Regions from separate parts of the Homo sapiens genome. Here regions 1, 2, 4 and 5 are each linked to region 3. Evidence: promoter capture Hi-C in human tissues and cell types (Jung and others, 2019). All regions are on one chromosome and are shown on one strand. The core of a region is centred on a gene start or on the middle of the fragment in contact, and the rest is flanking DNA. Distances in the headings are between cores, read along the strand shown.

Region 1 (4,133 bases), core at 1-2,500, 640 kb after region 3:
TCTTGCTCAGGAACTGAGTCTTGGTGAAATATAAGAGGAAGTGTTTGAACTGATGCTGGGGCAAGATCTCAAAAGGAAAACTGAGTTTTCCCTTTTGTAGAACTCTGTCACAGATATTTATTTTGATTATGCTTTTTATAACTTTTAAGGATTCTTGGAAATTTGCAATAAAATCATGTCAGGTTTAAATGTTTAAAAAATCATAGGATTAGCCTATTTGTTTTTTCACTCAACAGGAGTGTTTTTCATTTGACGACTTCAGAAGATCCCACGTCTTACAGCCCGTCCCTTCCTGTAGGACGCTGTGGGCCAGGACAGCACAGTACTCGGCCACATGCCCAAATGAGCAGCCACAAAAGTCTAATCAATCGATTGTTCAAACTGCTTAACTCACATCTGTAATCCCAGCACTTTGGAAGGCTGAGGCGGGCGGATCACTTGAGGTCAGGAGTTTGAGACCAGCCTGGGCAACATTGTGAAACCCTGTCTCTACTAAAAATACAAAAATTAGCCAGGTGTGGTGGCGCATGCTTGTAGTCCCAGCTACTTGGGAGGCTGAGGCAGGAGGATCCCTTGAACTCGGGATATGGAGGTTGCAGTGAGCAGAGATCCTGCTACTGCACTCCAGCCTGGGTCACAGAGATTCTGTCTCAAAAAAACAAAGAAAAACAAACAAACAAACTCTACTTAACAAGTGAGGATGCTCACGCCTTGACTGTAAAAATGCCTGCGTGGAATTGAACCACCTCGACAGCAACGACCCAGGAGGTGGAAATGAGTTGTTTTATTTTAGAGATTTAAATAAAGAACATACCAAACGTATGAGAGAAGAGGAAAGCTGAGAACCTAAAATCTGGACGCTCGGTTGGGCACAGTGGCTCACGCCTGTAATCCTAGCACTTTGGGAGGCCGAGGTGGGCAGATCACCTGAGGTTAGGAGTTCAAGACCAGCCTGGCCAACACGGTAAAACCCCATCTCTACTAAAAATACAAAAAAAATTAGCCAGGTGCCTGTAATCCCAGCTGCTGGAGAGGCTAAGGCAGGAGAATTGCTTGAACCCAGGAGGCAGAGGTTGCAGTGAGCTGAGACTGCACCATTGCACTCCAGCCTGGGCAACAAGAATGAAACTCCGTCTAAATATATAAATATAATTTTAAAAAATCTGGAAGCTCAATCCCTAGCAGTTTTGCTACTGCAGAACAATAACCTCTTTTGCTTTTGAAAAACAAACTTCAAGTTAAAAACACTGTGAATAACCTGGCACTATATTTCAATTTTTAGTGTAACTGGAATACATCCACAGGTATATTTAGCATCTAGTAGTTCTATTGAGTGCTAATGTAAATAAAATTTAAATCATAGGAGGAATAAACTATTTTTGGAATTAAAACTTAAGACAGACTCCATAATAAAATCAAATAATTTGATGTAATTCCTGTAACATATGTACTAACATTAAGTTCAACATTTAAAATTAATTATCTGTTATTGTGTATTAATTTAGAAAATTAATTGCAATCTTCTGAACTCTGCCTTTGGGGCTCCCTGGAACGAGGCCCAGGGGCCGTGTTTGCCTGAGTCGCATGCATGCACCTCCCTTCCCCAGGCGAGGCCCACTTGGCTGCGCGCCTCCCCACAGCGGGGACCATGAGATGCAGAGGCAGACAAGGACAGCGTCTTGGTGATCACAACTTTTAAAACGAAAAACTCAGATGCCCAGGATGAGAGAGCGCACACCCCGTGCTGATGCCCCACCCTGAACTTGCTGCTGCTGTGATGATGGCCACAGAAGGACAGCTGTTCACGGAGCCCTGGCCGAGCTCGCTCTGTCCTCAGCCTGTGCGGCTGGCCAGGTCCCTTGGCCGTAGGAAGGCTCCAGAGGCCTCTTTGGGTAGGAGAGTGTGGGGGATGGGTCAGTTGCTCAGCACACCAAGGAGCCAGGCCTCACAGGGACTCTTTTAGGGTCCCTAGATTTTGCAACTCAAGTGACAACCACTCCTGCCCCTGGAGTGTTGATTTGTGTGCTCCAATGCCCCCCAACATGTTGGCCGTCAGGTGCCCTGCCAGGCCCTGCGTGTTCAGTGTGCTCTGGTTCCTGGGAGGAAGGTAAGACACTGAGTTCTGAACTCTGGAGGTGGAAGGGGGCTCCTTGGACAGTCACCTGATTAAGCACAGCCCTGACCCCATCCTGGTCACAGGGGTGTGAGTCTCCAAGGACAGGGCTCCAGAGCACCGTGTGATAAGTCACATGCAAAGGAAACCTGGGCAATGGCATAAATGAGGACCTCCCCTTAGCAGGGAAAGGAGCTTAGCAGCCTTCGGAGCCTCAGCCTGCATAGGAAACGCATGTTTCTCCATCATGATGGGGGAAACTGAGGCTCAGGTTGTATCACTCAGTGTCAAAGCCAGGATTTGAACCTGGGCCTGCCTCCAGAGTCCAAGTCCCAACCACATGAAATGCTGCTGTCGTGGATCGGAGCAGGAGGAAATGCCCTGCTCTGACTCAAGGAGGTGCTTGGACTCTGCTTGTTTTTGTTTTTGAAACAGAGTCTTGCTCTATTGTCCAGACTGGAGTGCAGTGGTGCAATCTCAGCTCACTGCAGCCTCCTTCTCTAGGGTTCAAGTGATTCTTGTAACTCATCTCCTGAGTAGCTGGGATTACAGACATGCACCGCCACGCCTGGCTAATTTTTGTAATTTTAGTAGAGATGGGGTTTCACCATGTTGGCCAGGCTGCTCGAACTCCTGGCCTCAAGCGATCCACTTGCCTTAGCCTTCCAAAATGTTGGGATTACAGGCATGAGCCACCATGCCCAGCCAGACTCCACTTCCTGATGAAATGGCAAGAGAAGAGCATGTGGGGAGGATTGCAGACCTTGCTATGACCAACTTTGGAAAACACATTCTGCCCTCTGGCTGCACCCCCTACACATGCAAAATAGACTCACCCAGACACCCATGGTCTCGTGCCATTATGGCAGCCAGAGCTCCAGGTCTCACCACTTAACCATCTCCATGCGGGGTGAGGCTCCATGGGCACGGCTCCTCAGGCACAGCCTCTTCGATGTGTTTCCTTTTCAATCCACAGACTTGTGACCTCAAGAGCCAAGCACCTGGCCCAACCTCTTCACCCTATGTCTAATGGGGATGGGGATAGGACAGACACCTTGGCCCCTGCCACTCAGAAGGGGGAAACTGAGGCAAAAAGCAGGCAGTCTGCAGAGATTCTGAAATCCAACCTGACCCAGGTCAACAGGTCTGTGATTAGGGTGCAGTGTTGCTACAGGGACTGATTCTCTAGGCACCTGAGAAGAAAATAAAAGCCAGCTTGGATTAAAAGAACCAGATAGTACAAAATGAAAGGAGGCCAGTGGGCCCCTGAATTTCTACAGGCTAAGAAGACTGCTTAACCACAAACACAGGCTGCTTTTATTTTTCTAGTACAATTCCTTTAATAACTTTGTGGGTTTTCTATAAATTTTATTGATGTTCACTCCATTAGACAAAACCTGCACCGCAGATCTCTTTTAAATAGACCATTTTCTATTCAGGGCTCCCTGTGAGGCTGTTGTGGAACAATGCTGTTAAGATTCCCAGAAGGTCTCCTTAATAGGGGCCTGGGAGGCACATGTGTACCATCCCTGGGAGGCCCTTTGCCTCTGAAAAGGCTGGTGAGACACCAGTTGAACTCTTTCTGCATCTTAATGGAGGGTTTTATAATCCCACTCTTGGCTTCATGTCTGCTCTGAACCCACATATTCCCTACAGGGCTGTGGGTCCCAACTTTGCCCTGAGCCCTCTCATTCTTTGAGAATCTTCTGCTGGGAGAAACTGGGGATGAAAATTAGTTTCATTTTTGAGCCCAGCAAATCCTGGCTCCTTCATGTCTTTATAAGTTCTGTTTGAAAACCCCATCATTCCTTCTCCAGTGCCTCTCTCCCTAATCATTTCTCATGATGTGCAGGTGAAAGAAGCCAGTCATTCAATGACAAGAGCCTTCTTTCCTTCACTTCCAGAACATTTCCTTGCTTTTCCTCAGTCCCTTGCCAGCTGCCTTCTCATGCCTGCCAGCCTCCTCTCTGGGGCTGAGTCCCACAGCCAACCCGCAATGTTTTTTGGCTTTTGTCATGGT
Region 2 (3,887 bases), core at 531-3,030, 670 kb after region 3:
TACCCACACTTTTGTTTTCAGAACTGTTATGATTCTGTGTTATTTTATTTTTGTTTTTTATGTTTTTTAGAGATGGTGTCACACTCTGTCGTATGAGTGGCTGGAGTGCGGTGGTGCAGTCATAGTGCACTGTATCCTCAAACTCCTGGGTTTAAGGGACCTTCACCTTAGCTTCCCAAAGTACTGGGATTACAGGGGTGAGGCACCCTGCCTGGCCTTCTGATTCTATTTTAAACAATGAGATTTTAAATAATAAAAAATCTAGAAATTATTTGTTGTAAAAAATATAATGTAAAATTCCGCCCTAATGTATGCCCACAAATCTCCAGCGACCCCAGCCTCAGTTACTGGACAGTTCCCTTCGCGTTGATGTGAAACGGTGCGTTTGTCCTGCTCTGGATTTCAGGGGTCTGCTGTAGAATTCCTGTTGTTTCACTGGTCTGTTTACTGCAGTTCCCAGTGCTTCGTCATTTCCATCACTGCACCTTTGTAGGATCTGCAAGAGCTAGGTCTCCAGCAGTTCTTTTTTTTTTAAAGCATTTTCCTCATTAGCCTTGGGCACTTACTGTTTTGAAACTAATTTTATTATCATTTTGTTGTGCTTTCTCCTTTAGTAGGTACTGCATGGAATGTTTATGTTAATTTTGGGAGAGCTGACATCTTTATAACATTGACTCTCAGTCTCTGATTACTTAAGCTTTGTTTAATATCTCTTAGTATTTTAAGATAAGGACAATATCTCTTTGTCATACATGGTTGTGCACCTTTCTTGTTAAATTTGTTCCTAGGTATTTTTTGTGTATTATTACTGTTATAAGGGGGTGGGTGAAGTGTTCTCTAAATACCAATGAGATTAACTTGGTTGACAGTGATGTCCAGGCCTTCCATAGTCTTCCATAGGGGTGTTGGGGTCAGGGGTCATCAGCTGTGGCTCTGACCCTCCATCTCAGTCCAGACCTCAGCATGGCTCTAGGTCACAGGCAGTGATTCTGAATGTGCATTTCTTCCAGAAACTCCACTTGGAGATGTTGGCAGACCAGCCACGAACAACTAAATACCACAGTGTCATCCTGCAGAATAAAGAATCCCTGACGGATAAAGTCATCCTGGACGTGGGCTGTGGGACTGGGATCATCAGTCTCTTCTGTGCACACTATGCGCGGCCTAGAGCGGTGAGTGGGGTCTCGAGCGCATCCCGGGTGTTTGTGCCGAGGCTGGTGACGTCCGAGGTGGCCTCTGAGTGTGCTGACTTGTGACCCTGAGCTGTTGGGGGCTCACCGGTGACTCCATGGTCTTGTTGAGCACCCTGCACGTGGGGCTCAGGGTCGGTAAAATAGCAGTGCGTGGAGACCGCGTGCTAGAGGCCGTGGCGCCCGCGTACAATGAGTCGCAGACAGCACAGACGGGAGTAGGGCAGAATAGACAATATCCCGTGAATTGCGTGGGGCGGGGTATGTTCTGTGAGACGTTTATTTCAGTTGAGTAGAGAAACACGTGCACCCACATGTCTGTGCTGGGCCTTGGGTGTGGTTGGTCTCATGGGGTTGGGAGGGATGCACACGCTGGGCCCCCTCCCCACCCCTCTTAGGCCGTCTATACTGTGCTGAGCTGAGCCGAGCTGCAGCCTTGGAGACTCCTTACACAGTGGGTGGGGTCGCAGCACAGTGTCCACCCAAGTCCAGGCTCTGCAGGACCCAGGACCCAGCGCTTGGGTGCTTCCCACCAGACCCTTCCCTGAGAACCTGGGTTTGAAATTGTCTGACAGGCCTCAGATGTGGCACAGACCAGCATTGTCACTTGGGTGCTAAGAAGTTGCTGTGCTGGTCATGGATTAAGATTGCTGTGCGTGTGGCAGCCGGCTCGGGCATGCGAGTCTTCCATCCACTTGCAGCCCTGCGTCTGTGTCTTGTCCGGGAGGTGGGGGCAGTTGGGAGGGTTAGAGGCGGCTCCTTTCTGGGTGCCCCTGGAGGGGCAGGTGTGGCCAGTCCTCGCTGCCTCTGCTGTCTGGAATGCTGCTTCCCTCTTGTGTCATTGACCATTTCTCGTGATGCTGGTTGTGACTCAGGAGAGTAGATGACGGGCCGTGTGCCGGCCGGATGTACGCTGACGGTGCCTCTGCTGCTGCAGGTGTACGCGGTGGAGGCCAGTGAGATGGCACAGCACACGGGGCAGCTGGTCCTGCAGAACGGCTTTGCTGACATCATCACCGTGTACCAGCAGAAGGTGGAGGATGTGGTGCTGCCCGAGAAGGTGGACGTGCTGGTGTCTGAGTGGATGGGGACCTGCCTGCTGGTGAGGGCGGGCGTGCGGGCAGCTGGGGGCCGGAGCTGGGGGGCTTCTGAGCACGGGCTCGGCTGGGCCAACCTCAGGATCTCAAGGGTCGTGCGTGATTCATTTTGATGTTTTCCCTAATGTGAGGTCTAATTAATTTCTTGTGTGGACATTGGCTCAGTGTCTTGAATTTTCACCTGATTTAAAAAATGCCTTTATGAGAAATTTAAGTCAAAGTTCATGTAACATTTTCATGAGTGATTTACATGAACTGTGTTCTCCTCGGGGATCTGTAAAAATCCTGTGCCTAACAGGTAAGGCTGTTTCTTTAATGCCAGTAGGGCCTTCGTCCCTGGCCAGGGTCTCCTCGCCTTAGACTGGCCCCAGTGATGCTGTGAAGCCACTTGGGCATCTGTAGGGCCAGCATATGCCTGTCCTGTCAGGGTTGCTCACCCTGAGTTTCACATGTGGGTGGAAGTGGACTGTTTTCTGGTTGCCTGTGAATATGCCCTGCACAAACGCTGTCTGCTTGGAGGGAAGTTGACGGGAGTGTGGCTGGATGCTGTCTGCCCGCGCTGTCTTCCTGGGCTCAGCATCCTGGGACACAGGACATTGTAGTGGAGCATCCCAACCTGAAACTTTGTCTCAGTGTAGAGACCCAGAAAGATGGGGTCTGGGTGAAGGAGTGTGGAGTATGGCTGCTGCTTTCCAGGAAACGGTTTCCCCTGGTAACAGATGGCATTGGGCTTTTAGTCCTGTTGAAATTTTGTTGTCAGAAGATAAATGTAAATAGACTCAATGTCCATGCTGTGACTTGGCTTATTAATAACATCTGTGGAGCCATAAGATGACACACAGGAGAAACGGGCTCCACTCCTACCCCCTGAAGGGGCATTTGCCTTTGCCCTGAACAGCAGCGCCCATTCAATAAGTATCTGTTGACAGCTGGTGCCCCGGCCACGGGGACAAAAAGAGGACAGAGCAGGAGTGAGGCTGTGGTGAGGCCAAGGTTGTGTGGGCGGTGATACGGGGAAGCCTGGCTGCTGGAGTGTCCGGCTGTGCCCTGGATTGGGTGAGAGGGACACAGGAGGGACGTGGGGCAGAGGGAGGGGAGAGGAGTAGCCACTGTGTTCACCGTGTTGCCGTGTTCCAGGGCTGCCCAGTGGCCGGATTGGCCAGACTGTGTTGCATCAGGGAGGCAGAGGCCAGATGTAGGGAACTGTGTGTCTGAGGACTTTGTGCCACGTCCTGGACACCGAAGGGAGTGCCACTGGTGTGTGAGTGATGGAGTAAGAGGTGGGCTGTGTTTTGGAGGCCCCTGGGTATGTGTGGCCGGGACTGGAGGCCAGGGACTGGCTGTGGTCCAGCCCCAGCATGCAGAGAGGCCTGGGACATTCTGTGTGAGGGGAGGCCCCTCTGTGTGGGAGGTGCACAGACTTCCAGGACTGACCATGGCTTTATTGTCAGGATGCAGGAGCCAGGGCTTGGCATGGGGCAGGTGTGGGGGATGCAGAGCAGGGCCAGCAGGCAGGATGTGCTGATGGGGGCCTGGCGTGAGCAGGACGGTGCCTCCCAGCCCTGAGCCGCAGGGAGTGGGCCACCAGGACTGGCTGGGG
Region 3 (4,341 bases), core at 685-3,184:
GATGACATCAGTGGCAGGTAAATTGACTGTACAGTAAGTGTACAAGGCCAGGCACGGTGGCTCATGCCTGTAATCCCAGCACTTTCGGAGGCCGAGGCAGGAGGACCACTTGAGTCCAGGAGTTCGAGACCAGCCTGGGCAACATCGTGAGACCCCCATCTCTACAAAACATACAAAATTAGCTGGGTATGGTGGCACATGCCTGTGATCCCAGCTACTCGGGAGGCTGAGGTGGAGGGATCACCTGAACCCAGGAGACTGAGGCTGCAGTGAGCTGTGATGAGGCCACTACGTTCCAGCCTGGATGACAGAGTGAGCCCCTTAGATAATAATAATAATAATAAGGAGGAGGAGGAGGAGGAGGAGGAGGAAAAGAAGGAGAAGTACTTTACAACTTCTGTAACGTAGGTGTGGGGAAAATATTGAAGGCAATCCAAAAACAGTCACTGTGGAGTTGTGGAATTAAGTATCAATTTTAAAGGTTTTTTCAAATGTTTCTTTAACATGGTTTTTGGTATGAACAATTTGTGTACGTTTTAAAATTATAAGACATTTAGGCTGGTGTTAGGCAAGTCTCAGCAGCTCCAGCTTTGGGAAAGCTCTTCTGGGACCTTCTGTGGGCCAGGGATGCATCTGGCCACATCTGGAGCCCACCCCCAGGTGATATCAGGGACAGCCCCTCTCTCCTCTCTCTGTCTCTCTTTCTGTCTCTCTGTCTCTGTCTCTCTGTCTCTGTCTCTCCGTCTCTGTCTGTCTCTCCTCTCTGTCTCTCTCTGTCTCTGTCTCTCTGTCTCTGTCTTTGTCTCTCTCTGTCTCTCCTCTCTCTGTGTCTCTGTCTCTGTCTCTCTCTCTGTCTCTCTCTGTCTGTCTCTCTGTCTCTCTCTGTCTCTGTCTCTCTCTGTCTGTCTCTGTCTCTCCTCTGTCTCTCTGTGTCTGTCTCTCTGTCTCTGTCTTTCTGTCTCTCTCTCACTGTCTCTGTCTCTCTCTGTCTCTCTGTCTCTGTGTCTCTCTGTCTCTGTCTCTCACTGTCTCTCTCTCTGTCTCTGTCTCTCTGTCTCTCTGTCTCTCTGTGTCTCTCTGTCTCTGTCTCTCTGTCTCTGTCTCTCCTCTGTCTCTCTGTGTCTCTCTCTGTCTTTCTGTCTCTCTGTCTCTCTCTGTCTCTGTCTCTCTCTCTGTCTCTGTCTCTCCTCTGTCTGTGTCTCTGTCTGTCTCTCTGTCTCTGTCTCTCTGTCTCTCTCTCACTGTCTCTCTCTGTCTCTCTGTCTCTGTCTCTCTGTCTCCACACACAGCATATATAACAACTATATTGTGAGCAACTTTGTCTTCCCACGGTACAAACTGAAATATCTTTGGCAAATACGTATCCGACTATACTGTGAAGAAATATTGACGTGAAAAAAGAACGCGGAGATCTGATAAAGCAACAATTCAGCTCACGGCGAGGTCCTCTGCAGGAGGCGGTTGGTGGGAAGAGGCGAGTGAGCCTGCCCGTGCGTCCCGCATGGAGACGTCTGGATTGGAAACTACCGAAAGATGTTTCAAGGAACTCTCCCTGGGTGACACGCTGGTTTTCAGACGTTTGATTCAGCTGCTGCAGTTTCCTCCTCCCTGACACGGGAACTGAACTGCAGGCCGCGGCGAGCCAGCCAGGGAAACCGCCTTCTCCCTGGGCTCGGAGCTGCTGCCGGTTCTGGAGGGAGAGACCCCAGCAAGGAGGTGGTGACTCATGGGCCGCTCCTCCCCGCCCCGCCCCGCCCCTCCCCTCCCGCCCCGCCCCTCCCCTCCCGCCCCTCCCCTCTCCTCCCGCCCCTCCCCTCCCCTCCCCTCTCCTCCCGCCCCGCCCCTCCCCTCCCCTCCCGCCCCTCCCCTCCCCTCCCGCCCCTCTCGCCCCGCCCCTCCCCTCCTTGCCCTCCGCTCTCACTCTGGCTGGGAGCAGAAGGCAGCCTCGGTCTCTGGGCGGCGGCGGCGGCCCACTCTGCCCTGGCCGCGCTGTGTGGTGACCGCAGGCCCCAGACATGAGGGCGGCCCGTGCTCTGCTGCCCCTGCTGCTGCAGGCCTGCTGGACAGCCGCGCAGGATGAGCCGGAGACCCCGAGGGCCGTGGCCTTCCAGGGTGAGTGGTGGCTTGGGGTGCAGGCTCCAGACCCCCCGCTCTTTGCTGCCGGCCAGGGCCAGATGCGCGGGGTCCCCTCCCACGCGTGGAACTGCAGACTGGGGGCCTGGAGCCCCTGAACCCCACTCCCCGCTCGGGGCGGCTGCAGCGCCCAGCTCTGCCCCACCGGGCCTTGGCCGGGGCCCCTAGAGGCTCAGCATTCAGCATTCTCAGCGGGGCCGGACCGCAGGCAGCTCGGGAGGGGCTCCCTGGCGAGGGGGAGCTGGTGCGGGGCTGTCTCGGCGCCCCGTGAATCCGTTTGACCCCTCACCTGGCAGTGAGTCCAGACGCACGGCCCCCCCGACCCCCGTTCTAGAAGAAGTCGTGCGCTGCTGGTTCTGAATCCAGCGAGAAACCTTCCCGTGAGGTCTCACTTGTCCGGTCCCGTGCCGGGGACGCCCTGCCCTTCGGGGGAGGTTGTGAAGGTTTCTGACTCCCCTCGAGGCACAGGAGCGGTTTGGGGTCTCTCACTCCACCCCCTCCCCACCGTCCCCACCGAGGGACGTCCTGCTGCCTTTTCCCGGGAGAGCCTCTCCGGGCCCGGGGCTCTGTGCTGCAGGCGCTGGGCTGGCCGGGAGGGCAGGCCCAGCAGAGACTCGGGGAATGGGGCGAGAGCTTGAAGGCCCCTCTCCTCCATCTTCGGCCAGACTGCCCCGTGGACCTGTTCTTTGTGCTGGACACCTCTGAGAGCGTGGCCCTGAGGCTGAAGCCCTACGGGGCCCTCGTGGACAAAGTCAAGTCCTTCACCAAGCGCTTCATCGACAACCTGAGGGACAGGTAGGAGGGACGCCCCGTGACCTTCCTCCTGTGCTTCTGGGCCTCTTGGAGGGAGGGGTGGGGGCCCAGGGGAACACGGGTGCGACGGCCTCAACCTCCTAAGGTTGGGCGAGCGTTGCCCTGACCGGGGCCCCTCCCGGCGCCCTCCAGAGTGAGGCCGGGGCCCTTTCCGGCGCCCTCCAGAGTGAGCTGGTCTGAGCCTCTCCCAGCGCCTTCCAGAGTGAGCTGGTTTGAGACCCTGCTCGCGGGGGTGGCACCTGTTCAGCAGGGCCGAGGTGACAGTGAGGCTGAGATGTAGGGAAGAGAGGCTCCCGCAGGCTGACCGAGAGGGCTCAGCGCACTGGCCCAGACACGCAGTCCTGCCTGGTGCGCGGGAGCCCCTCACTAACCACCTGGACCCTGGTTTGTTCCGTGGGCAGTGAGAGCCTCTACCTGGGTCCTGGATCCCACGTTCTGAAGGTCCCCGACTCGGGAGCCAGGAGGGGTGTCGCTCTGCAGCCCCAGGGCCCCCAGGCTTGGTTCTGGGCTTGGGACACGGCACCCTCTGCTCCACGTTCCTCCATCTGTGCGTGTGGCTGAGGACAGACCGGGGGGAGAGGGGAGTCGGTCCTGTGGGTGCACAGGGCCGCTGAGGGGGGGGCATGTAGAACGGGGCTCCCCCACTGAGACGGGTCCTGGCAGTGGGGACACAGCTTAGCCGGCGTAGGAACCCCCGTCCTCCTTGACCCTGCTGACTGGCCGCTGGGCCGGAGCCTCCCGCCACCAGAAGGGGCACAGTCAGAGGCTGCCGGTAACAGCAGGGTGGACCTTCCAGCCCACACCGTGCCCAGCAGGAGCCATTGGTACCAGGAACCCTGAGCTTAGTGGACATGGCCAGGCCCGTGCGGCAGTGTTTGGGGGGGGGTCTGGCTGTGGATGGCACCGGGGAGGGGCGGCCGCGTGGCCCAGCGTCCCCCGAGTCGCCCTTGTTGCCTTTACTCAGTCTCCCCATGACTCAGTTTCCCACCTGTGAAATGGGGCGGAGTCATCCCCATGTCGCTGCCACTGGATTCCTGCAGGCGCCGTGGTCACTCTGCTGAATGGATGGGAGGGTGGGTGGGGCAGAGGTGGGCCCACCCCAGGCTGGGGCAGAGCAGACCCCTGAGAGCCTCAGGCTCAGGTGCTCAGAGGGCAGCGAGGGGGCTGCTCAGATCCCCGGGGTGCCTCCTTCCCCCACTGTCATGCTGCCCCACTGCAGGCCCAAGGACCCCACCCCAGCAGGGCCACACACTCAGGGCTCCTGGTCTGAGGGCCTGAGGGATCGGGGCGCAGGTCGCTTGCTGGCCACACCCGCCTGCACAGCCTTCCAGGAGGGCCGGCCTCAGGGCCACAGGGCAAGTCCAGCTGTGTGTCAGCCACGGCCAGGGTGGGGCA
Region 4 (4,362 bases), core at 1,645-4,144, 580 kb before region 3:
GTGCAGGTGGAGGCAGGGCTGAGGCCAGGTCTGCTCTATGTCAAGAGGAGTGCAGCCTCTCACAAAAGCTGAACAATTCCTAGGCTCCTGCGCACTGCGGGTTGTAACCACGGCCCGGGCAGCTCCTCTGAGCCTGAGTGCAGCCCCTTCCCTGTCTGTACCACCTCTCCCTGCAAACCCATCAACCCCATCCCAGGCCCCACCTGCCCAGGAAGCAAGACAGACACCTGTGGTGCAGGCCCCAGACTTGAGGAATCTGCTACCGCTTCTTAGAACCCAGACACGGTCCTAAGCCTGCTCCACCTGCTCCACCCCAGGACCTCTGCCGGAGCTGCCCTCGGTCCTGGATGCTCTCTCCTCCCTGCGCACCCCACAGCCCATTCCTCCACAGCCCATGAGCCCTCCCCTGGTCCCTGCAATGAGCCATGGCCACTCCCCTGCTCCCCACACCTGTGCTCCAAGGCCCCCCAGGGACCTGGCACGTCCGTCTCTTTGGGGGCACTGGTTTGAGCCTGCCCCTACCAGAGGGCACAGAGCCTCCAGGACCCTGGTGGAGGGACAAACAGGGCCGAGCAGAGCTCCATGTGGACGCTGGGCGCTGCCCTCAGAGCACCTGCAGGCGTCTGTGCAGAAGGGCCCGGGAGGAGGTAAGGCGAATGGAGAGACTTTTGGTCTTATTTTCTACGTGTGTTTCTGCATTTTCTGTTGATTTTTCTGTGGTTATCACATATTACTCGTGTCTACAAAGGAAACAATACAACTCTAATAGAAAGAGGGGATGCTACAGAGCCTATGGGGACACAGCCATGAGGCCAAGGTAAGGCCCCAAGTGAAACGAATGAGCAAAAAGAGTTCGTACAGCTACCAGGTAAGCAGTCACATGTGTTTCATAGTAGCTGTGTCTCCTACTGATCACACCCCCATAGTCCCCAAAGGTGGAGAGTGGGGCAGGAGAGAGGTAGGCCAACTCAGGCCACAGGTGGGCTGGCACCCGCCCTGCCCCAGCCCCTCCCTCCTGGGAGCCGCAGACAGGCCCCCAGGGCAGTGCATCAGGCCACACCTGCAGAGACCTGCTTCCCCTGGCAGCAGGCACCTGCCCTGACGGAAGACTTAGGAATGGGTTGGGTTGGGTGGAAGTGGTGCCCCAGGGCAGGTGAGATGGAAGAGGTGAAAGAGACCTGCACTGCAGGGTTAATGGACAGGGGCCAGACAGACCAGGAGCCTCGGGAGGAGAAGCCACCAGGACCCAGGACACATGAACACCCCTGACACACACTCACACGCACACAGGCTGACACACATGCACACACTGTACATAGTTACAGAAACACACACATGCACACACACAGCACAGAGAGACATGCACACACATGCACACAAGGTACGGTCACAGACACACACACAGCAGACACACAGACACACCCACTGCACTGCAGAGACACCACCAAACCCTGATAGACACACACAGACTCACTCCTCCATCCACCTGAGAAACAAAAGTTTTGCAGAAGTGTGCGATGACCACTTCTACTCTATGCTGTTCTCCTTAATCTTTTTATTTTTAAAAAATGTGGGTCATAATCCTTTACATTGATTTCCTTCCTCACAGTGCACCGCAAGCACTCAGGGAAGGACTCCAGGTTTGAAGGCAGATGCTGGTCGGGACCCGACCAGGTGGCTGGGCGGGAAGAGGTGAGATCGGGCAGGATTGGGCCTGGGAAGGCTGAGGCAGGCAGGGATGATGCCAGCAGAGGAGAATCCCAAGCAGGCCCCGCGGCTGCGGCTGGAGAGCTCCAGGGGCGGAGAGGAGGTGGGAGGCAGCAGTCAGGTTGGGAGGACCCTGGCAAGCAAGCCCAGAGAGGAGGGCCGGGAGGGCCGGGCACTAGAAGTGTGAAGTCACTGCTGCCTCCTGGGGCTGCTTCAGAGGATGGGTGGGGCCACGTGTGGGGAGATCAGGGAGACTGGAGACTACGCTGTTTGGTCCAGGCATAGGAGATGAGCCCTGGCCGGGAAGGGACAGTGTGGATGGGCCAGGCGGAATCAGAGGGTTTCAGAGAAAGCCGTCAAGCCAGTGCCATGAGTTTCGCGCACACGAGGAGGGAGCAGGCTGGGGGGTGTTGCTGGTGTGAGGGCTCTCTGGTTGCAGGGAGCGGTCCGGTCGGGTGGGGGCACAGCTGCCAGGAGGAAAGCGCCCAGGGCCTGCAGGTGGGGCTCAGGATGCTGGCCCTGAAGAAATAGAAACAGGGTTTTCACCTGGGAGGGAGGAGGAGCCTGGGAACTGGGGAGGAAGAGGCTCTGCTGGGCCGCGCCCTGGGAACAGGGGGACCTGGGGACAGATCTGGCCCTCGCACGCCCCTCCTGTCTCGCGTCCGTCCCTCCGTGCAGCCGGGGCAGGACCCTGCAGGGGCCTTGCGGGCCGGAGGTGCCGGCTTCCTCCTCCGTCCCGTCCCCCCCGCGGTGACTCTATTCAAATCTCCCCCCTTCCCGCTGCCCCACCGGACTCAGGGGCTGGGGTCGTAGCCCGGCGGGCAGCGGTGTTCACCTTCCGCATAAACCTGGGCTTCCTCGCGGGGCAGCCCCCGGGCCCTGTGCTGGGTCGCAGCCTCGGGCGGTTCCCTCGGGGCGGGACGTGTCCCCGTCCGTCCTCGCCCGTCCCCGCCGCCCCCGGGTCCCGGCCCGCCCCGTCCTCGCAGCCGCAGGTCCGCTGCGGCGCCCGCCCCCCTCTCCCCTCCCCGGGCCTTGCCCTGCTCGTCGCTCCGCCCCCTGCCCGGCCCCTGCCCGGCCCCGCCCCGCGCCCGCCCCCTGCCCGCGCCCGCCCCGCCCCCTGCCCGGCCCCTGCCCGGCCCCTGCCCGCCCCCTGCCCGGCCTCCCAGCGGCGGCGGCTGCAGCGCGGCGGTCCGAGCGGGTGCACCGCGGCGGAGGAGGCAGCATCCCGCGGCGCTGACGGTCCTGGGGAGAGCATGGCGCCGAGGTGAGGCCGGGGCTGCGGGCAGGGGTTGGGGGACGCCAAGATGCGGCTGCGGGGGTCGCGGGGGTCGCGGGGCTCGGCCGGGTCCTGCGGGGGTCGCGGGGGTCCTGCGGGGTCTGACCCGTGCCTGTCCCGCGCAGGTGCCCCTGGCCATGGCCGCGGCGGCGGCGCCTCCTGGACGTGCTCGCGCCCCTGGTCCTGCTGCTCGGGGTCCGCGCGGCCTCCGCGGAGCCAGGTAAGACCCGGGCGGGACGGGAAGGTTCGCGCCGGTGCCCGCCGGCCTCGCCGCCCTGGCTGGGGTCCCCGCCCGGCTCCCTCACCCCCGCCCCGGCCGCTCTGGGTTCAGCCCCGGCCCTGCCCACGCGCGCAGGAGGCGCCGGAGCCGGACGGAGCGGGGCGGGGTGGCCGGAGTCCCGCCCATTCATTCTCCCCGCGGGGTCCGGGCCGGGAGGGGTGCGCGGTGCGAGCGGCCGGAGTCCCCGCGCGGGGACCGAACCTCCGCGGCCGGCGGGGTCGTCGGTGCCGGGAGGGCTCGGGGCGGGGCCGCGGGGTCTCGGGAGACGCGGCCTCTGTCGCCGTCACGGCCTCGTCCCCGCAGCGCCGGGTCCCGGGACTGACCGCGGGCGGAAGGCGGCGGAGCGCGGGGCGTCGTCTCCGCGTTTCCAACCTGTTGAGGCTCCTCGCCGCGGGCCGGGCCTTGTGCGCCTCTGTCCCCGCCGCCCTCAGGCCTCTGTCCCCGCGCCCGCCGTGGTGTCGGGTTGCGCGGTCCCCTTTGATGCCAACCGAGCGCCGCGCGGTCCGAGAACAATGCCCAGAAGCCGCTGCCCCGCCGGCCTCGCCGCTTCCCGTGCGCGGCAAACGGTGCGCGGGGCCCGTGGGGACCTTCCTGCCTCCAACCCCGGGACCCAGTTCCCCACCACCTGCTAACCGGGGCCTCCTGCCTCCAGCCAGCCCAGCAGAGGCCCGGGGGAGGCGGCGGGGACGCGGACCCCAGGGGAGCCCCGCCCAAAGGGCCTGGGTGCCTTGTCGCGGGTGGAATCCCACCCGGGGGTCCACGCAGCCAGCGCCTGCCTCCGACTCGACTCCACACCTGCTTGCTACAGCGGGTGAGGAAGCAGGAAAGGGGGAGGGAGGGATGTCGTCTGGATTCCTGTAATAATTTGTTTCATTGTTTCCAATCGACTTAGTCACCAGGTTAAATAGTAGCATAGACCTTTCAAAAAAGTAGCTAGCTTATAAGTAGATGTATTGAAAACACCTGCTTGTTGAGTCGTAGACAATTCCTCATTTACTGTGTGAACTCTAGGGGGTGAAACACGGGCGGAGAGCGGCTGTGAGCTCACGCGGCTCCATCCCCACAGCGGCCCAGGGTCACTCGGGGCCATTAATCAGGC
Region 5 (4,154 bases), core at 1,294-3,793, 660 kb before region 3:
GTCTTGGGAGGATGTATGTGCCCAGGAATTTATCCATTTCTTCTAGATTTTCCAGTTTATTTGCATAGAGTTCAAAATAACTATGAATACAGCTAACAAGGGAAGTGAAGGACCTGTTCAAGGAGAACTACAAACTGCTGCTCAAGGAAACCAGAGAGGACACAAGCAGATGGAAAAACATTCCACGCTCATGGATAGAAAGAATCAATGTTATGAAAATGGCCATACTGCTCAAAGCAATTTATAGATTCAATGCTATTCCCATTAAACTACCATTGACATTCTTCACAGAATTAGAAAAAACTATTTAAAAATCCATACGGAACCAAAAAAGAGCTCTCATAGCTAAGACAATCTTAAGCAAAAATAACAAAGCTGGAGGCATCATGCTACCTGACTTCAAAATATACTACAAGGCCACAGTAACCAAAACAGCATGGTACTGGTACAAAAACAGACACATAGACCAATGGAACAGAATAGAGAACTCAGAAATAACACCATATGTCTACAACCATCTGGTCTTCGACAAGCCAAACAAAAACACGCAATGGGGAAAGGATTTCCTAGTTAATAAATGGTGCTGGGAGAACTGGCTAGCCATATGCAGAAAATTGAAACTGGACACCTTCCTTACACCTTATGCAAAAATTAACTCAAAGTGGATTAAAGCCTTAAATGTAAAACCCAAAACTATAAAAACCCTAGAAGAAAATCTAGGCAATGCCATTCAGGACATGGGCACAGGCAAAGATTTTATGATGAAAATGCCAAAAGCAATGGCAACAAAAGCAAAAACTGACAAATGGGATCTAAATAAACTAAAGAGCTTCTGCACAGCAAACGAAACTATCATTAGAGTGAACAGACAACCTACAGAATGGGAGAACATTTTTTGCAATCTGTTTGTCTGACAAAGGTTTAACACTTAGAATCTACAAGGAACTTAAGCAAATTTACAAGAGAAAAACAAACAACCCCATTAAAAAGTGCACAAAGGATATGAACAGACACTTCTCAAAAAAAGACATACATGCAGCCAACAAATGCATGAAAAAAGGCTTAACATCGCTGGTCATTAGAGAAATGCAAATCAAAACCACAATGAGTTCTCATGCCAGTCAGAATGGTAATTATGAAAAAGTCAGGAAACAGCACATGCTGGCAAGGCTGTGGAGAAATAGGAACACTTTTACACTGCCGGTGGGAATGTAAATTAGTTCAACCATTGTGGAAGACAGTGTGGTGATTCCTCCAAGATTGAGAACCAGAAATACCATTTGAGAAGCTATCCCATAACTGGGTATATACCCAAAGGAATATAAATTATTATAAAGATACATGCACACGTATGTTCACTGCAGCACTATTCACAATAGCAAAGACATGGAATCAACCCAAATGCCCATCAGTGATAGACTGGATAAAGAAAATGTGGTACATATAGACCATGGAATACTATGCAGCTATAAAAAGGAACGAGATCACGTCCTTTGCAGGGACATGGATGAAGCTGAAAGCCATTATCCTCTGCAAACTAACAAAGGAACAGAAAACCAAACACCGCATGTTCACTTATAAGTGGGAGCTGAACAATGAAAACATACGGACACAGGGTGGAGAACAACACACACCAGGTCCTGTTGGGGGAGGGTGGGGGTGGAGAGCATTAGGGAAAAGAGCTAATGTGTGCTGGGCTTCATACCTAGGTGATGGGTTGATAGGTGCGGCAAACCACCATGGGACATGTTTACCCATGTAACACACCTGCACATATACACCGGAACTTAAAAAGATATTAGAGGAGAACACGGACCTTAGAATAGCAACTCTCCCAAACAAAGACGCAGCCCCACGTGGAGCAGAGGAGGAGAAGATAAAGTGGACTGCAGCAGAAGCTAACACAACTTTATCACCAAAGACCCCAGAAACCAAGTCAGAAGGCCAGTGGTGGACATGGGAATGATAGATGCTAAAGAATGCTCAGCTTATAGTAGCCAGAGAAAATCCTGGCAAAGGTGGAAAGTGTGAAGGCACCAGGCATCAGTGGCACGCGAGTGTGATCTCCGGAGGCGGGGGAGGTGGGGGAGGCCGGGGCGTGAGGGGCTGTGGTTATCAAAGGGAACCGGCTCTCTTAGGGGGGCTCTTTTACTTTCTCTGTTACTCAGAGCAGGGACCAGCCAGCTCTGTCGAGGCCTGGAAAGTAATGGATTTAAGCTTTGCGGCCACATGGTCCGTGCACCCACTCTGCTCTGTCCATGTTTTTCTTTGTATTTTTCTCCAAGCATTTAAACACGTGCAAACCATCCTTAGCCCAAATGCAGCCAAAAGCTCCTGTGGGTGGAGTTTACTGTCTTACGCCCGGGAGCGGCTCAAAGTGTGCCCCAACCAGCAGCCTGGGCACCCTTGGTGCTGTAGGAATGCAGGTGCCCTGGCCCACCCGGACCCTGGTGTGGGGGGGGGGCCCACCCAGGCCTCTAAGAAGCCGTCTAAGGGTGCCGCCCAGGTCTTTGAGAAGGGCAGCCTTGGCCAAATGGTCATACCTGTACACGGGCCGGGCCGCACGACTTCTTTAGAGCTGGGGCCAATGGAAGCCCCCTGAGTGCTCCTCAACAGGGGCCTGGAACCCCGGCTCTTGTTAAAATGCAGATTCTGACTCAGCAGGTCTGGGCTGGAGCCTGGGACTCTGCATTTCTACCCAGCGCCCAGGGGTGCCCAGGCTGCTTCTGGGACCTCACTTCCTGGCCGTGGTACCTTCACAGCACCAGCCACTAGCGTGGAACTTGCACTGCAGCTTCCGACAGCTGCAGAAATGGGCATGTAGGTGGGGTGGGGGCTGGGACCTGAGCTTGTTGTCTGTCCCTCCCTTTCTCACTGGGGCATTGAGGACACACATGAAAGAGGCGAGGGGGCGAGAAACAATGCTGGCATCTCCATCCTGGGAAGAGGCTGGGAAGAGTGACTCAGTCACAAAAAATAAACAACACCAGCTTTTGTCTTAGAAATTCACCCTGTTTGACTTCATGGATTCCCATCGGTCTGCAAGGACCCGGGTTAGCCTGGGATCCTCTTCTGTGGCTTTGGTGAGCAGATCCCCACTCCGCCTCCTCTTAGGACGCCTAGTCCTGCCGTGATTGGCCTTGGGGGCCCGGGGGTGACCTCAAGTGTCCCCAGCCAGGCCGCCCACCCCAATCTCAAGAAGAAACAGGGTGGGAGGAAGCAGGGCAATCTCAGCACCCATGGCAGAGGAGGCCACGGTGGAGGAGGCCACGCCTGGCTCAGCCTGGAGTTGGGGACGTGAGGAGGGGCTGAGACGGTCACCCCAAGACCCCCACTTCAGGCCAGCTCAGAGGGTCCAGGGTGGGGGTACTTGGGAGAAGGCTTGTGAGGGGGTCCCTGTGGCCTTCAGGGAATCCCACCCCATTTGGATGTTACCTCCAGGCTGGTCCTAGGGGCTGGGCACCCACAGGCCAGAGGCCAAGGAACCAGGAAGTGCCCCCCGACATGCGCTTGGGGAGCCCCAAGCTCCTCCACTCATGAAAAATCGAACCCCCCCACCACCTCCAGGTCAGTCACCGTCTCCAGGACGTGGGTGGCTGCCCCCACTCCTCTGGCCCCCACTTCTCTGGCTGAGAAACTCCACGTGCACCACCCCAGGGGCTTCAGGCTCCTCCAGAGGGGCTCCATTCCCCTTCCTGCCCCGTCCCCTGATGTTCCTTCCCCACCAAGCCCTGGGCCATCTTCCCACAGCCTGGGACTAGCCTTCTGGTCACCTGCAGTGGCTGCCAGGTGGGCTGGGGTGGGGGCTGTCCCTGGGTGCCCAGGCCTCTCGGGGACCCCTGCATGCACTGGGCATGACATGGAGGGTGCCTTTCCCCACCCAGGGCCCAATGAACCTGGAGGTCACAGCCCCGACCCCGGCCCAGCTCCAGGGTGAGGCCGGGCCCCTCTGGAGCCCCACTCTGGCCTCCTCTCCTGCCCCCACCCCCATCCTGCCCCTTCCTGCCCTGGCCCTGTGTCTATCTGCTCTGCAGGCCGTGCTCTGGGAGCCTTGAGGCCCTGCGTCCACCCCCTGGCAGTTCTTCTAGGCTGGGCTCCAGGATTGGGGCCTGTTACCTGGAGGTGGACTGGCCTCCCTGCTGTCAGGCAGGGCC

The links. The method cuts DNA at HindIII sites, captures the fragments that hold promoters and counts their contacts. A contact is called where the count stands out against the background at its distance.
Region 1: a contact is called between a fragment that was not itself captured here and the fragment with the promoter of COL6A1 in region 3, in 1 of the 25 tissues and cell types used here (lymphoblastoid cells).
Region 2: a fragment that was not itself captured here is called in contact with the fragment with the promoter of COL6A1 in region 3 in 1 of the 25 tissues and cell types used here (lymphoblastoid cells).
Region 4: the fragment with the promoter of COL18A1 here is called in contact with the fragment with the promoter of COL6A1 in region 3 in 2 of the 25 tissues and cell types used here (H1 embryonic stem cells and stomach).
Region 5: a fragment that was not itself captured here is called in contact with the fragment with the promoter of COL6A1 in region 3 in 2 of the 25 tissues and cell types used here (lymphoblastoid cells and thymus).

Annotation. Positions count from the first base shown.
Region 1 is chr21:46,622,527-46,626,659 of GRCh38, forward strand. No RefSeq gene overlaps it. Among named protein-coding and RNA genes, the nearest start is that of PRMT2, 11 kb to the right of the region's middle. RefSeq lists an enhancer at 1,861-2,361. The HindIII fragment of the contact is 7,233 bases long and covers 1-4,133 here.
Region 2 is chr21:46,647,448-46,651,334 of GRCh38, forward strand. PRMT2 (protein arginine methyltransferase 2) reads left to right here. Exons shown (of 12, transcript NM_206962.4): 6 at 1,011-1,172; 7 at 2,128-2,292. Among named protein-coding and RNA genes, the nearest start is that of PRMT2, 14 kb to the left of the region's middle. The HindIII fragment of the contact is 3,449 bases long and covers 57-3,505 here.
Region 3 is chr21:45,979,836-45,984,176 of GRCh38, forward strand. It overlaps COL6A1 (collagen type VI alpha 1 chain), which reads left to right and starts at 1,935. Exons shown (of 35, transcript NM_001848.3): 1 at 1,935-2,112; 2 at 2,799-2,928. The coding sequence starts at 2,016. It overlaps LOC105372841 (a long non-coding RNA gene), which reads left to right. Exons shown (of 3, transcript XR_937803.3): 2 at 1-17; 3 at 1,455-1,731. RefSeq lists enhancers at 1,693-2,555, 2,556-3,416. The HindIII fragment of the contact is 42,283 bases long and covers 1-4,341 here.
Region 4 is chr21:45,402,271-45,406,632 of GRCh38, forward strand. COL18A1 (collagen type XVIII alpha 1 chain) reads left to right here and starts at 2,895. Exons shown (of 42, transcript NM_001379500.1): 1 at 2,895-2,971; 2 at 3,109-3,203. The coding sequence starts at 2,961. It overlaps BNAT1 (breast cancer associated ESR1 regulating natural antisense transcript 1), which reads right to left and starts at 4,092. Exons shown (of 2, transcript NR_183526.1): 1 at 3,897-4,092; 2 at 1,536-2,226. RefSeq lists an enhancer at 2,050-2,750. The HindIII fragment of the contact is 38,297 bases long and covers 1-4,362 here.
Region 5 is chr21:45,314,762-45,318,915 of GRCh38, forward strand. No RefSeq gene overlaps it. Among named protein-coding and RNA genes, the nearest start is that of LINC00316, 25 kb to the right of the region's middle. RefSeq lists an enhancer at 3,763-4,154. The HindIII fragment of the contact is 7,844 bases long and covers 1-4,154 here.